Linked DNA regions of Homo sapiens: region 1 is linked to region 2. The links are contacts of gene promoters, found by promoter capture Hi-C in human tissues and cell types (Jung and others, 2019). All regions are on one chromosome and are shown on one strand. Each heading gives the region's core, a stretch centred on a gene start or on the middle of the fragment in contact. The rest is flanking DNA. Distances are from core to core; before and after follow the strand shown.

Region 1 (7,067 bases), core at 4,553-7,052, 370 kb before region 2:
TATTACTATTGTAGCCTATGTTTTACTTCCTAAATATCTTGCAATGTGTTTTGTAATTTTTTTCTGGGTTTTGTACAATTTTAATTTTATTGTGAATGATTTCTTTTTGAAAGATACTACAATTTCTAATAAACTATTGCTAGTGCGTAGAAACACTGCTGAATTTTATATGGTTTTTTGTATTTGGATGTTGACATTTGTCCAGCATGACTTCACTTAATCACTCTAATAATATGCCCGTAGAATCTCTTGATTTTCCATATAAATAATCATGCTGTCTACAGATGTCAGAGACTTTTGCCTCTTATTTTCCTAACCCTTCTTTTTTAAATTTTTTTTTTTGAGACGGAGTCTCGCTCTGTCACCCAGGCTGGAGTGCAATGGCGTGATCTCAACTCACTGCAACCTCTGCCTCCCGGGTTCAAGAGATTCTCCTGCCTCAGCCTCCTGATTAGCTGGGATTACAGGTGCCCACCACGACGCCCAGCTAATTATTTTTAGTAGAGATGGGGTTTCACCATGTTGGCCAGGCTGGTCTGGAACTCCTGATCTCGTGATCTACCCACCTCGGCCTCCCAAAGTGCTGGGATTACAGGTGTGAGCCCCCGTGCCTGGTCTTATTTTCCTAATCCTTCTATCAGTGAATGGTGGCTTCTAAATCTGACCTTTTCCAGCTCTTGGGCTGTGCCTGTGGGCTGGCCCTGGGCAGCTATTACCTTGCACTGTCAGTTATAAATAAATAAAACACCCTTACTTTCTCCAGAGCTTTACAGTTTGCAAAGCGCTTTCGCTTCCATTATCTCATTGATCCTTCTTACCCCCACTTGATGGAATGGGAGTGTCTGGGTGGAAACGGTCCAGGGCTCCGTGTCCAGAGATCCAGCTGTGCAGCCATAGTGCCGAGGCACCTCGGACAGTCCCTCCTCTTCTCTCTTACTCCTGTAATCTAACGTTTGGCCGGGAATGGTCCCTGGCATTCCAACTCATGTGTGATGGATTTGGGCGGTCAGAGGCTCACGGAACGCTTTGAGGGCTGAAATCCACCGATAAAAAGGCGGGGGATTCTGGGTACATTTAGGTCTCCAGGCTGGTATCCCAAAATGTCTGGGGGGATATGGAAATGTCCTTGGAAGTCGGAGGCTTGATACAGATGGTGGGATGGGTGGAGGTGGGATGGGGAAGAGATCATTATGTCCAGCCCCCTGCCTCCGTGCGGCTTCTCCTCCCCCTGTAGATTAGAGCGTTTTCTGGGTCGGGAAGGGGAGGACGAGATGGAGCTCGTGGCCTTGGGTTCCCTCCTGCGTCGCCCCCTGTAACTGCGTCCCCCAGCACGCACTGCTGACGCGCATCCCCAGCCCGGGGCGGCGCGCTCCGCAGGCATCCCGCCCCCGACTCCCGCTCCGTCCCAACATCGCGCAGGCGCAAGACCGGGCTGGCGCCAGCGAACGCGCCCTCTCGTGGCGGACTGGCCAGGTCGCAGTCTTTGTTGTTGCGCTGGAGGCGGCGTACGGGACAGGGGAGAAAGATGTGGGTGGAGTCTGGGAGGCAGATGCGAGAATCAGATCACAATGACGAGAAGCCCTTTCCTTTGTCCCTCACGGCAACGTATAGATGCAGATAAAGAAAACACGGCCTCAGACCTCAAGAGACTTAGAGACAGGTGCACAGAAACTGAAGCTGAATGAGACACACTGGACAGCAGTCATTCGTTCATTCAGCAAACATTCACTGGGATGGGGAGATACAGGGACAAAGGACCAGAGGGCTTACATTTAGGCACTGGTGGGCAGAGACGGGGCAGAAAGCTGGAGAGACGGATGCGGATGTCAAAAAGGCCAGGACAGAGAAGCGACTAGCTCAGGACAGGGCTGGGCCGCAGGAGTGAGGCGGAGGCCGGGGAAGTACCGGCGGAGCCTAGGGCACGGCAAGGGCACCAGCTGTGCGAGGTGGGGTACGAGCCCCGACCCCTCCAGCTCTCCTGACCGACGCCCCAACTGGGGATGACAAAACGGAGAGCTAAAGATAGGCAATGTGAGCACCAGAAGGGACCCTAGTTGCAATGGACTGAAGCAGTCAGATAGGTGTAAACCATGTATCATCATTCTACTACTACCAAAGAAGCTCGGACTGGCCAGAGTTTGGAGGATGCTAGGGAAACAGCTCTTTATTCAGAAACTGTTTAATACAGGAAGAGTCCAGCGTTTCTCCCGTCTTCCTTTTACGAACTTTCCCACTCAGTAACCAAATCGCAAGGGGCAGTTTCTGTCTATAATTATTCCAGCTAATAAAGGAAGGGGTGATCAGAGTGATCAAATCTGAATATCACTATTCTGCACACACACAAAAAATAAAACGCTAATGGCGGAGGCAAGACACTACTAAGACCACAGAAACGCATGATGTGCCTTCAAATGGAAGAACACTGTCACCACCTATGAAGTGGTCTCAACGAAGGAAATTGAACATAAACCTTATAAGGCCTCTAGATCCAACTACAAATTACAGTAACAATGTACAGGAAATACAACGTACAGGAAGTATGGAGGTGGGAGGAACATGTTAAAGATCACCATAGAGATGCAATCAGCAAAATCCAGAGGGCAAAAAACTACAGAAGAAATTTTCTGGCTCCTTCAAGGAACGAGAAAGAGAAGGGAGGGAGGGAAGGAAGGAAGGAAGGAAGGAAGGAGAGGGAGGGAGGGAAGGAAGGAAGAAAGGAGGGAGGGAGGGAGGGAAGGAAGGAAGAAAGGAGGGAGGGAGGGAGAGAAGGAAGAAGAAGGAGGGAGGGAGGGAGAGAAGGAAGAAGAAGGAGGGAGGGAGGGAAGGAAGGAAGGAGGGAGGAAAGGAAGGAAAGTATGAAGGAAGGAAGGAAGGAAGGGAGGAAGGAAAAAAGAGAGAGAAAGGATGTATGGGAACCTATAGATTTGAAGAAATTTAAAAGAGCCTTGGCCAGGCACAGTGGCTCACGCCCGTAATCTCAGCACTTTGTGAGGCCAAGGTGGGTGGATCACTTGAGGTCAGGAGTTTGAGACCAGCCTGGCCAACATGGTGAAACCCCTGGGCATGGTGGCACGTGCCTGTAGGCTGAGGCAGGAGAATTGCTTGAATCTGGGAGGTGGAGGTGGCAGTGAGCCGAGATCATGGCACTGCACTCCAACCCGGGTGACAGAGCGAGACTCTGTCTCAAAAAAAAAAAAAAAAAAAGCCCTATAAATCATCAATCAGTTGCAATGTGTGTATCTTCTTTGTATCTTGAGTCAAACAAATACACTGTAAAAATATGTATGTTTATGAGAAATTGGTAATTTGAACACTAGAAGTTTGATATTAAGGAATTTTATTGATGATGTTAATAGCTGAACGTGTTATGTGATTATGTTAAAAAGAGTCATTATCATTTAAAGATACACACTGAAATATTGATGGATGAAATTAATCAGGAGGGGTACAGATGAAACTAGACTGGCCATGAGTTGATAATTGTTGAAGCCAGGTGACAGATACACGGGGGCTTATTATAGTATGCTGCAAATTTTTCAAACTAAGAAGTTTAAAGACCCTGTGACCTCCCTTCCCACCCCTAGGCCCAATAGACAGAAGGTGCTGTGTGTTACAAGCAGCAGGTTGCAATCCAGACAGCTCTGAGTGGGAAGGTCCTCTGATGGCTGAGGGGCCTGAGAAGGGTTTCTGGGGACTTTCTGGCTTGTGGGACAGTCCCTGGCTCCCTTGAATTGGGCAGGGAGGATCTGATGGGGAAGTAGCTGCAGCTTTTCATTAAGGAAGGCTGGCCTCTGTGGGCCTGGTGACACTGGGGCCAGGCACTGCTACCTTAAGACAGCTGAGTGGGTGGCTCCAAAAATAGCCAGGGGGACGGCAGGGGGCGGGGAGTCACATGGAGAAGCTCAGGGGTGAGGCTGGGCAGGTGCCCAGGGGGTTGGCACTTCTGCCTGCTCCCCCAGAACCCTTGGGCTCTTCCTCTGCCTCCAGAACCTTTCTTCCTCCCTCCCTCTGTCTCTGAGAAGACAGAGAGATGGCCAGGTGATGCTGGGACAAATACTGCCTTGCCTGAGGGGACGCTGACTCTGGAATTTGGTGGCTCTCCAGGGATGAGCGGGTCAGTCAGGTGGAGAGAGAGAGAGGAAGGGACAAGGACTGCGTAACCTGCCTACCAGTCACCCCATCTGCAGGCCAACACCTGTGCCCTTAGGCTGGACCCAAGTGATCCTTGCCTGGGGTATTTTGTTGTCCTTTTGAGGCCCTGGAGGAGAGGTCACACAGGCACCAAGGATTTGGGAACCCTGGCAGCCATAGGTCCCCGCCCCCTTCTCAGGGCACCTGGGGAGAGTGCCCCTGTGCCTGCCCTAAGTGAGAGACCTGGGGAGAGGACACCGCGCCCCATCGCCCCTGGACTGAGATCCTTTGGCAGAGGCAAGAAGGAAGGGGAAGCAGGGCCGGGCAAGTACATCAGCAGCACAGTCATCGACTGAGCCAGGCACTGGGCTAAGCCGTCCACATGCATTCTACTCATCAGCAATGTGGCCTTGGGGAAGGTATACACCCCTGTGCCTCAGTTTTATCATCTGTTAAATGGGCACAGTAATAATACCTGCCTCATGGAACTGCTGAGGAGATGGAATGAGGTAATATAGGTAGATATATGTAAGATTCTCAGCACAGTAGCTGGCAGCGCTAGCTGGTATTACCCACTGGCAGGTGACCTCCATGTGGGCAGAGGTTTGCTTATCTTTGCAATTTCAATGTCTGATACATAGCAGGTGTTTCATAAATATGCGCTGCATTCATTACTTTGTGGAGTCCTCACAATGATGCCAAGAGGCAAGCACTATTCTTGCCAGTTTATAGTTGTGGAAATGGGCTAGAGGGCAAATGGTGCACTCAAGGCCTCATCCCCAGCAAGTGGCCAAGGTGGCCCACCTCCAGGCCTCCAAGTCTATGCGCCGAATGAACCCTGACTCCATGGGCCAGAGAGGGTGCCTCCTCCGCTCACCTGTCTCTAGCTGGCTGGTCCTGTCCAGGGCTTGCTAGACCTCCACGCTGAAGTGCTTGGACTGGGGATAAAGGCTGGGTGGATGGCACCTACGTTTGCTGTTAAGGAAGCTGCCGCCAGCCAGCTACACCTACTAGTTACCAGGCCCTGTGCCAGGCCCAAGGATACAAACGTGACAAGATCCTAGTCTTCGAGGAGCTTGGAGCAGTCTGTGTGATTGTGTTGTGCCCAGGAAAGCACGCAGGGGCTAAGGGGACACCCAGCTTGGCCTAGCAGAAGAAGGGAGGTCAGAAAGGCTTCAGAGAGGAGAGGACATCTGTGCAGAGTCTGGAAAGGTGACTGGAAGGTTGCTGCTTGAATGAAGGTGGGAAGGGAACTGCAGGCAGAGGCAATAGCCTGGACGACGGCTTGGAGACTTGAGAGAGTCTGCCAAGCTAGGCAGGAGCGGAGTGAGGCTGAGCAGGGGCCTGGGGTTGGAAGGGTAGGGGCAGAGGATGGGATTCTAGACCAGCTGACCAGGTTCAGGACAGGCCAGAAAGCCACCAACTGGGGATGAGCTGGGAACTCAGGGGCCATGAGAACCATTAGAGTTTTAAGGGAGGATGGAGGTGGCCTGGTTGGTGGTTTAAAAAACACTGTGGCCACTGGAGGGGACGGTTGGAGGGACAATGAGTGCGAGGAGGGTGTCTATCCCAGATTTGGTGCATGCTCCAGGCGGGGAGGGGAGGCTGACGCTGGGACCCAGCTGCCCCGAGCCACCTCCCTCCTTCCCTCCTCTCCTCCCTGCCCCCTGTCTCTGTCACTCACCGGGCGGGCCAGGCCGGGCAGCCATGGCTGAGACACTCTTCTGGACTCCTCTCCTCGTGGGCAAGTTGGGGCCTTGTTCAGCGGGGAGGCCCAGGATGAGGGGGCAGGATTTAGGGGTGGTAAGACGGAGGTGTGGAGGGCCCACAGAAGAGGGATCTGGGTTGGGTGAGGCAGGCGCCAGAAGGGCTTTGGGGTGTTAATGCCATGGCCAGCTGGGGATCCAGGGAATGGGGCTGGGAGCTGGGCTCTGGGATGAAGGGGCTGGGAGCTCTGAGGGCTGGAGGTGTCCTAGGGCCCGGGTGGGTCTGACAGCACAGGCCCAAAGGGTCGTGGGCCCTTTAATGAGCTGGCTGGGCCGCAGCTTCTAAGCCCAGGCTAAATTTGGCCCTGGGAGGGAGGGTGGAGCTGGCGGCCAGGTCCTCTGCTCCTCTCTTGGACTTAGGATTCCTTTTGCTCAGCTCCTACTGGCCTCTAGGGCAGGCCTTCTTCTTCCCTGTATTTTAGGGGAGGAAGGTGGGGGTCTCCAGGCCCAGAATGGCTACCCTTCCTCCTCTGTAGGCTCCTGGCCCCGTCTTCCTCTCCTCTGGGCTCTTGGGCATTTAGCATGGGATTCTTTTCCCAGTGCCTTTCACACATACACACCCTCACACACACACACACCCACACACACCCTCACACACACCCTCACGGCACCCTCACACACACACCCTCACACACACCCTCACACACCCTCACACACCCTCACACACACACCCTCACACACCCTCACACACCCTCACACACACACCCTCACACACACCGTCACACACACACCCCACACACCGTCACACACACCCCCCACACACACCCCCACATACCCCCACATACCCCCACACACCCCCCGCAAACACACACCCCCCACACACACCTTCACACACACACACCCTCACACACACCCTCTCACACACACTCACTTGCACACACACCCTCACACACATCCTCACAGACCCTCACACATACCTTCACACACACACCCCCCCACATCCCCTCACACACACACACACCCTCACACACACACTTCCCAGTCAAACATCAGTCCCTGCCCACTGCACCATTAATAGGGGCCTAAAACAAGGAATGGAAAGGTTGTGGGAGAGGTTCTCCCTCGAATCCCGAAACCCAGACGATTAAAATGTCTAGCCCAGCAGGGCTTGCTCCCCCATCCCCACCCCAATCCCTTCCTGGGAGGCAGCAAAGGAAGCGCTTCTCTCGG
Region 2 (7,097 bases), core at 3,074-5,573:
TTCTGTCCGCTGCCAGGATGTGGTACCCAGAAGCTACCTTAGTGACCACCTTGGTTTAGTAATCCCAGCAAAGTTAAATGACTTATCCATGGCCATTCATGGCATGGCAGAGCTGGGACCAGAACATAGGCACCACAGTCCTGTTTCATGAAGCCACGCGCCTACCAGGGCTCAAGGCTATTGCCCTTTGCTTTTCCACCTCCCCTCAAGCCTCCTCACGTACCTGCAGCATCCACTAGGCTGTTGGGGGCCTGCCATATTTTCTTCCACCCACCTCCCTTAGATCAAAAATCACCTCCTATCATGGAAGTGAAGGTACCTGTGGGGAAAGCTGGGAAGGAGGAGCGGAAAGGAGCAGCCCAGGAAAAGAAGCAACTGGGGATCAAAGACAAAGAAGACAAGAAAGGAGCCAAGCTGCTCGGGAAAGAGGCATGCTGGGGCGTGGTCTGGGCCAGGTGGGGCTGGGGAGGGGATTGGAGGGGCTGCGGAGGTGGGGGCTGTGGAGGTGGGCATGTGCCCAGGCTCTCCCAGTGAGCTACTGTTGAGGACATCCTTGGCCTACCTCTGGAGCTCCTGAAGGCTATGTGTGTCTCCCTCCCCCAGCAGGACCGTCCCAACAGCAAGAAGCACAAGGCAAAGGATGACAAGAAAGTCATAAAATCTGCAAGTCAGGACAGGTTTTCTTTGGAAGACCCTACCCCTGACATCATCCTCTCTTCTCAAGAACCCATAGACCCCCTGGTCATGGGGAAATACACCCAGAGCCTGCACAGTGAGGTGAAGGGAAGCGCCCAGCAGCCATTCCCCTGCCTCCCACCTGCCTTATTCATTCCGTTCAGTCTGCAGACAATAAGTGCCCACTCCATCATGGTGGAAGCAGAGCTGCTTCAGGAAGGGCATCCTCGTGTGTGAGACAGGCCTCATGAATAAGGAATGCGCCTAGCATGTTAGGTGATGAGTACGACGGGAGAGAAGATAGACCAGGCAGGGAATGGAGGCACAGAGGCCTCAGTGAGGAGGTGACAACCCACAAAGATTTGAAGGGAGGGGAAGGGTGGCCAAGTAGACGTCCAGTAAAGAGTGCTCCAGGCATGGGGAGCAACTGCCATAGGAGGGAGGGGCCAGAAGGGAGAGGGCAGTAGTGGGGAGCAGGTCATAGGGGTGGGGGATGGTTTGCAGGCTATTGTGAAGACTTGGGATTTTTCGGAGTGAAATGAGAAGTCACGCAAGGTTTTGAATAGAAACGCAATAGGGTCTGATAGGCTTTAGAAGGTGGCTCTGGCCGCCCTTTGGAGAACAGACTCTAGGGGAACAGAGAGGAAGGAAGCCCTTCTCTTTCTTACTCCCCGTTAGGTGCATCCTGGCAGATGCGTTCCTTGGGAGAACACCATGCAGGGTGCATTCCCATCAACTGTAAGAGTTTGAAGGACTAGAGAGACTTCATCCTAATCCGTTCTTAAGTAGCAGGTCCTTAGAAATTCACCCAGGTTTTCCGTTTTGTTTGTTAGTGTTGTTGTTTGTTTTGGAGGGGAGGTCCACAAAGCCATTTTCAATATGTCAGTATGTCTATTGGCGACGTCTTGCCTTCCTCTAATGTGGATAGCTGGGGAGCTGGGATTACATCATGTATTGTGGTCACACTCTGGATCTCATTTGATCAAAAGTTCCATTTGCCACTGGTGACATCACTAAGATATCAGATGGTTGATGGGGTCTAGAAAGTAATTAAAGGGCTCTGAGGACCCATGGGGGTCAACGTCAACCCTTCCATGGCTCTTTGATATTAAGAATCAACTTGCAGACCAGGTGCGGTGGCTCGTGCCTGTAATCCCAGCACTTTGGGAGGCCAAGGTGGGCAGATTGCCTGAGCTCAGGAGTTCAAGACCAGCCTGGGCAACATGGTAAGATCCCGTTTCTACTAAAAATTCAAAAAATTAGCCAGGCATGGTGACACTCACCTGTAGTCCCAGCTACTTGGGTGGCTGAGGCACAATAATCGCTTGAACCCGGGAAGTGGAGGTTGCAGTGAGCCGAGATCACGCCATTTCACTCCAGCTTGGGTGACAAGAGTGAGACTCTTACCTCCAAAAAAAAAGAATCAACTTGCTGGCCAGTGGCTCACACCTGTAATCCTAGCACGTTGGAAGGCTGAGGCAGGTGGATTGCTTGAGCCCAGGAGTTCGACATCAGCCTAGACAACACAGGGAGACCCCATCTCTGCAGAAAAAAAAAAGAATCAACTTGTCTGGGCTTGTATGATCCAACCCCATTGGAGGGGTCAGTCCCAGAGACCTTTCAGTCTGTGGATACAGGAAGGAAAATTGGCCTCCAGGAGGCCAGAGTAGAACTGGGGCTGAGCCCAGGCCCACCCCAAACGGCTAAATGGGCACCGCTCCATGGGCTCCCTGGAGTTGCCCCTTGAACAACTTAGCTCTAGTATCTCCATATGTCAAAGGTACCAGCGCAGGGCCACCTCCCCAGACTGGTTTGAAAAGTAAAACTGCAAAAGCAGGTGGATTGCTTGAGCCCAGGAGTTCGAGACTAGCCTGGGCAATGTGGTGAAACCCCATCTCTACAAAAAATAGAAAAAAGTAGCCAGGTCTGGTGGTGCACGCCTGTAGTCCCAGCTACTTGGGAGGCTGAGATGGGAGAATCACCTGAGCCAGGGAAGTCAAGGCTGCAGTGAGCCATGATCACACCACTGGACTCCAGCCTGGGTGACAGAGTGAGATCCTGTCAAAAAAAAAAAAAATCTGCAAAACCAAAAATTATTTCACAAGAACTTTGAACTTGTGAAATTCTTTCACAAACAACTGGTTTCTTTCCCCTCTCCAGCTATTCTCTCACAGCATAGTTCATATATAGGTGCTTCCCACAGAGTAAACTCTGCCTGTGATGTTGTCCCGTTCTTCCAGGTCCGTGGGCTGCTGGACACCCTGGTGACTGACCTGATGGTCCTGGCTGATGAGCTCAGCCCCATAAAGAATGTCGAGGAGGCTTTGCGCCTCTGCAGGTGACTCTCGGGCCCAAGCAACCTTCTGGAAAACGGGTTAATAAATAAATCAATAAAGAACCTTCAAGTTTCTACTACTTCCGTGTGCCTCTGTGTCTTGCATGATGGATCTTGGCTAGGTCAGCTCCTGATCCAGGTCCTCCCATGTTCCACCTGCCCTCAGATCCCCTCCTGCCAGCTGCCAGAGCCCTCCTGCAGGAGGACAGACAGACATAGCTGGGGAAGTGATGTGTGGGATGCCAAGCAGAGGAGCAGATTGGTAGCAAGACAAGGAGTCAGGTGACAGGACAGTGTGTCACCTCTGGTAGTCCCTGCCTCTGGCTTCCTTGGCCCACACTTTCAGGGTCGTGCTTCCTGGAGCCAGGTCTTCCCGAAGTGTCATCACCAAGTATGACAAAGTGTGAGATGAGGAGTAGAACTAGACCCATGGGACCTGGCTCCCTGCCATCTCCCCTCTTCAGCTGGGTCCCAGGGCCCCAATTCAGTCCCTGAAGATCATGCTCACCACACCTCTTCAGCTCTAGAGGCCACATCACCTTGTTATTTCGGGGTCTAGTCTGCCTTATCCCCCTCCTCATCTCAAACTATCTGGCCTTGAGCCATCTTTCTGCCTTAAAAACAGCTGCTGATCTTCATGCTACCTCCCTTGCTCAGGGGAACATGAAACAGGCTAGAAATGGCTCTCAGAAAAAAAGGTATTGTCAGCTCAAACTCAGGCCCCTCATTGTCTTCTGTCAGTCATAACCATTTGGGGCTGGGCTCCCTGTGTGAAGAGCACTCCAGGCTCCCAGAGTTTGAAGAACAACTTTGGTTTTTGGGTGGGTGGGCATCCTTAAGTGGGCCTCAGGCATCCTCCAGCTGAGATGCAGGAGGGGGAGGATGGACAGAAGGATCTGACTCCGTGTGGGAAAGGCAGGGAGGGGGCTGTGCTGGAGTCCTGATGCTCTCCTCCCCAAGAAGACGAGAAGACGGGGGCTCCACCAAAGAGCCAGCCCCAGGGAATGTCCCTGCCCTCTCCTTTAATGTCCTCCCGGCCCAGAGGAGGAAGGGGAGGGGTGTGGTGGGGGTGTTGGAGCCCCCCTCCTTTCCTGTTGAAGAGGCAGGGGAAGGGTTAACTCAAAGCAGAGGGGATCAGGTCGCCAGCACTGGCTCCAGATGTGCACTTCCTGGGGGCGGCCAACAGGCAGGCCCCCCACCTCTCAATGCACCACTTGCCTGGCCAGCAGGAAGGGGTTAACCTGCCCTGCACTTCCTCCTGTGTCCTGTTACTGCTGAGGCAGACCTGCCGGGCCAGCTGAGCAACTTTCCTCGGAGTGCTGCCTGGCGCTGGCTAGGAGGCAAACGCACGCGGGAAGAGCTGCTACCCATTCCAGGGACCCTGCCGCTGCCCCTCTGAGGGGTCTGCACCTCCTGGGAGCAGGTGGGTCTCTGGGACGAGGGTCCATGGTGGATGGCTCTGGAGACGCTCCCGAGGCTGTGCCGTCCCGCTGCTGCACAGGTCGGAGGGTCACCGCAGAGGCTACTCGGGCTGGGGCTGGGGCCGAGGGAGCCCGCACTGGAGGTAAGCTTCCTCCCTGGCCCCCTCCCTGGCAGTGGCGGCATGGAAGGCGGGGGTTGGTGGGGAGCAAACAGTGGTTCTGGGGCTTAGTCTCTTTTCCAGGTGCGAGGGAGAAGGCTGAGCTGTAGAGGACCTAAAGGCTTCTTTCCTGCCACCCCTCCCTCCCTGCCGCCCCCAAAAAGGGACTCAGGGCCCCCTCCCCAACCATCCTGGGACTTAGCATCTTTGGTGGCATCTTAGCATCTTTGGTGGCATTCCCCACAGACTCCTTCTGCACATCTCTGCTGTTTCCTCTTCTTCAGCCCCTCATGCACACCTCTAGCCTCAGGGCAGTCCCCCCTCCCCCATCTTCTGTGCTCCCGGGATGCAGCTATTACAGTGGCCAGAAGCTTAGAGTTCAAGCTCACCCCCTGTCCCTTACAGCATCAAGAAGGGCACTGTCATTCCCCACTGCTCAGGCTGGATCTGACTTGGAGGCAGGGGCTGGAGCCCACCTTAGCAGAGGACGGGAAGAGGGTGTGGGCTGGGCTGGTGGGTGCACAGACTTTACGCAAACTCATGCACGTGTGACTGGACAGATCTGGGTTCTCTCCATCTCTCCGAAACCCTTGCTGGGGATGAGCGATCTGCATTTTTCGGTCCTGACTTTTGGGAAACTCTCCAGATCCCCCCATCCTGCAGGCCCTGAGAAGAGCAGCCCCTCCCTACTGCGCAGTTCTCCTTGGGACCCTGTATGCAGGAGAGAGCTGATACTCCGTGCCCCGTGGCCCATCCCACCGCCTGCTGGCCCTGCTCCCATCCCCTCAGCTTCCTCCCTCCTCTGCCCTCTCGTCATCTCTGAATTCTCAGGCCCTGCCCTCTCTGTGCCCTTCCCTCCACCTGACAGGGTCTGGCTCAAGGTCACTGCAGTAATTCCATACCCAGCTGCCCAGGGCTGCTGCTGCTACCGCCACCGCCTTATCGGCCGCTGGGTTTCTGTTACACTCCCTTTTATTTCTGGGCATATCGTGTTCGATAAAACCCTTTGCTTGTAACACTGCTGGCAGCGCTCCCAGCTGCTCCCTCCCGCGTTCCCGCGTTCCTTCCTTTCCTCCTCCCTTCTCTGCGCTTGGGCAGGCTTCTTCCTTTCCTCCTCCCTTCTCTGCGCTTGGGCAGGCTTCTTCCTTTCCTCCTCCCTTCTCTGTGCTTGGGCAGCCTCACCTTGTCCCCTCAAACTCCAGAGAAGGAAAATCAAGGTGCCTCCCCATGTTTCTGGCCCCGCCCTTCCCCCCAGCCCCTGCAGGGGTGTGCAGAGAATGCCCACCTTCTGTGAGAAAGGTCCAGGCAGGGCCGCTGGGCCCACACCGAGAGTCCCCTCCCAGAGGCTGGTGCCCCCACACAGGCCAGGCCGGAGGGCCAGGGCAGCCAGGTCCAGGTAGGGCTCTGGTGCAGTCACAGTGCCCGACTGGTTCTGCTAGTTCCAGCGGCCAGCCGGTAGGGGCGTGTGCTGGGCGGGCTTTGGTGCACATTATTTCCCATCTTGACTCTGCCACCCCCAGCCACGGGTTGGGGAGGTGAAGGCAGGTCTGAGTCACTAGCAAGGGGGAGGGCAGGAGTTAAACAAGTTGTGGCCGTGGCATTCCCACAGAAGGCCCACGACCCGCTGGAAGGAAAGAGATAGCAGACAAAAGGTAGGCTGCGCTGTGGGCCAGGCACTCTCCACCTCGCCCACTCCCACGGTATCTTATTCTCTGGGCCCCCAACAAAACCTGCCAAGGCATGTTTTCAAAGCGTGGGGCTGCTTTGAACTGAGCCCAGCACTGGCGGGGCTGGGGTGGAAGGAGCGTGGAATCGGGTGCGAGAGGACAGTCTCCTTCAGATTCCTGCTTCTGGCAGCCTGGGGACCAGTTGGGGCACGGGCTGGGATGGAGGGTGGAGCCGAAAGGTGTTTGGTGGGTGGGGGACAGTTCACGGGTGAAGTGGAGGCTCTGCAGGCCCAGACAGTGTGTGTGTGCATGCACACACCAGTGCTAGTGTGGGAGGAATGGTGGTGGTCAGGGAATTCCTCTTTTGGTTTCTGAAAGGGCCTTTGGGAGGACCTTGGGCCTGGAGTTGTATTCAGCAGATAGCCTGGACCTGTGGCTACTGGGGGGAATTGGGCTGGCCCAGCTCTTCTCCCTGCTGGGGTACCAGAGGTCCACTATGTGTCCAGCGTTTTGGGGCTTTGGAGAACCCAGACTGTTCCTACTCTCAGGGAGCTTCCATTCTAGCTGAGAAGGTGGGACTGAGACAGTAAAGCAATCCGATGAAATAATGACCAAACTGGGTAACACTGACAATAAGAATTGGATTAGTCTTCTGGAGTCCTGGATGGTAGTCCAGGCTCTGCCACTTACGTGCCATATGATGCAGGCAGGTCCCATCCCCTCTCTGGCCTCAACACTTCCATGTGTACGTGGGGGTGGCATGCAGGAGTGTTGGCAGTGGCCAGAACTCTGAGGGGCAGTCTTCCTCAAACGATACTTGCTCTCTTGCCTTCTGGCCCAG

Evidence for each region. Contacts are between HindIII fragments. The study calls those that stand out against the background at their distance.
Region 1: a contact is called between the fragment with the promoter of SGCA here and the fragment with the promoter of EPN3 in region 2, in 1 of the 25 tissues and cell types used here (mesendoderm cells).

What each region holds. Positions count from the first base shown.
Region 1 is chr17:50,160,203-50,167,269 of GRCh38, forward strand. SGCA (sarcoglycan alpha) reads left to right here and starts at 5,803. Exons shown (of 10, transcript NM_000023.4): 1 at 5,803-5,875. The coding sequence starts at 5,839. LOC105371818 (a long non-coding RNA gene) reads right to left here and starts at 6,155. Exons shown (of 4, transcript XR_934833.3): 1 at 5,816-6,155; 2 at 5,009-5,277; 3 at 819-946. LOC124904025 (a long non-coding RNA gene) reads left to right here. Exons shown (of 3, transcript XR_007065841.1): 3 at 1-155. RefSeq lists silencers at 1,181-1,260, 1,291-1,530 and enhancers at 1,286-1,580, 3,397-3,897. The HindIII fragment of the contact is 20,868 bases long and covers 1-7,067 here.
Region 2 is chr17:50,528,412-50,535,508 of GRCh38, forward strand. It overlaps EPN3 (epsin 3), which reads left to right and starts at 4,324. Exons shown (of 10, transcript NM_017957.3): 1 at 4,324-4,574. MYCBPAP (MYCBP associated protein) reads left to right here. Exons shown (of 19, transcript NM_032133.6): 17 at 284-429; 18 at 607-777; 19 at 2,916-3,090. The coding sequence ends at 3,017. RefSeq lists enhancers at 5,190-5,866, 5,867-6,543. The HindIII fragment of the contact is 9,890 bases long and covers 1-4,769 here.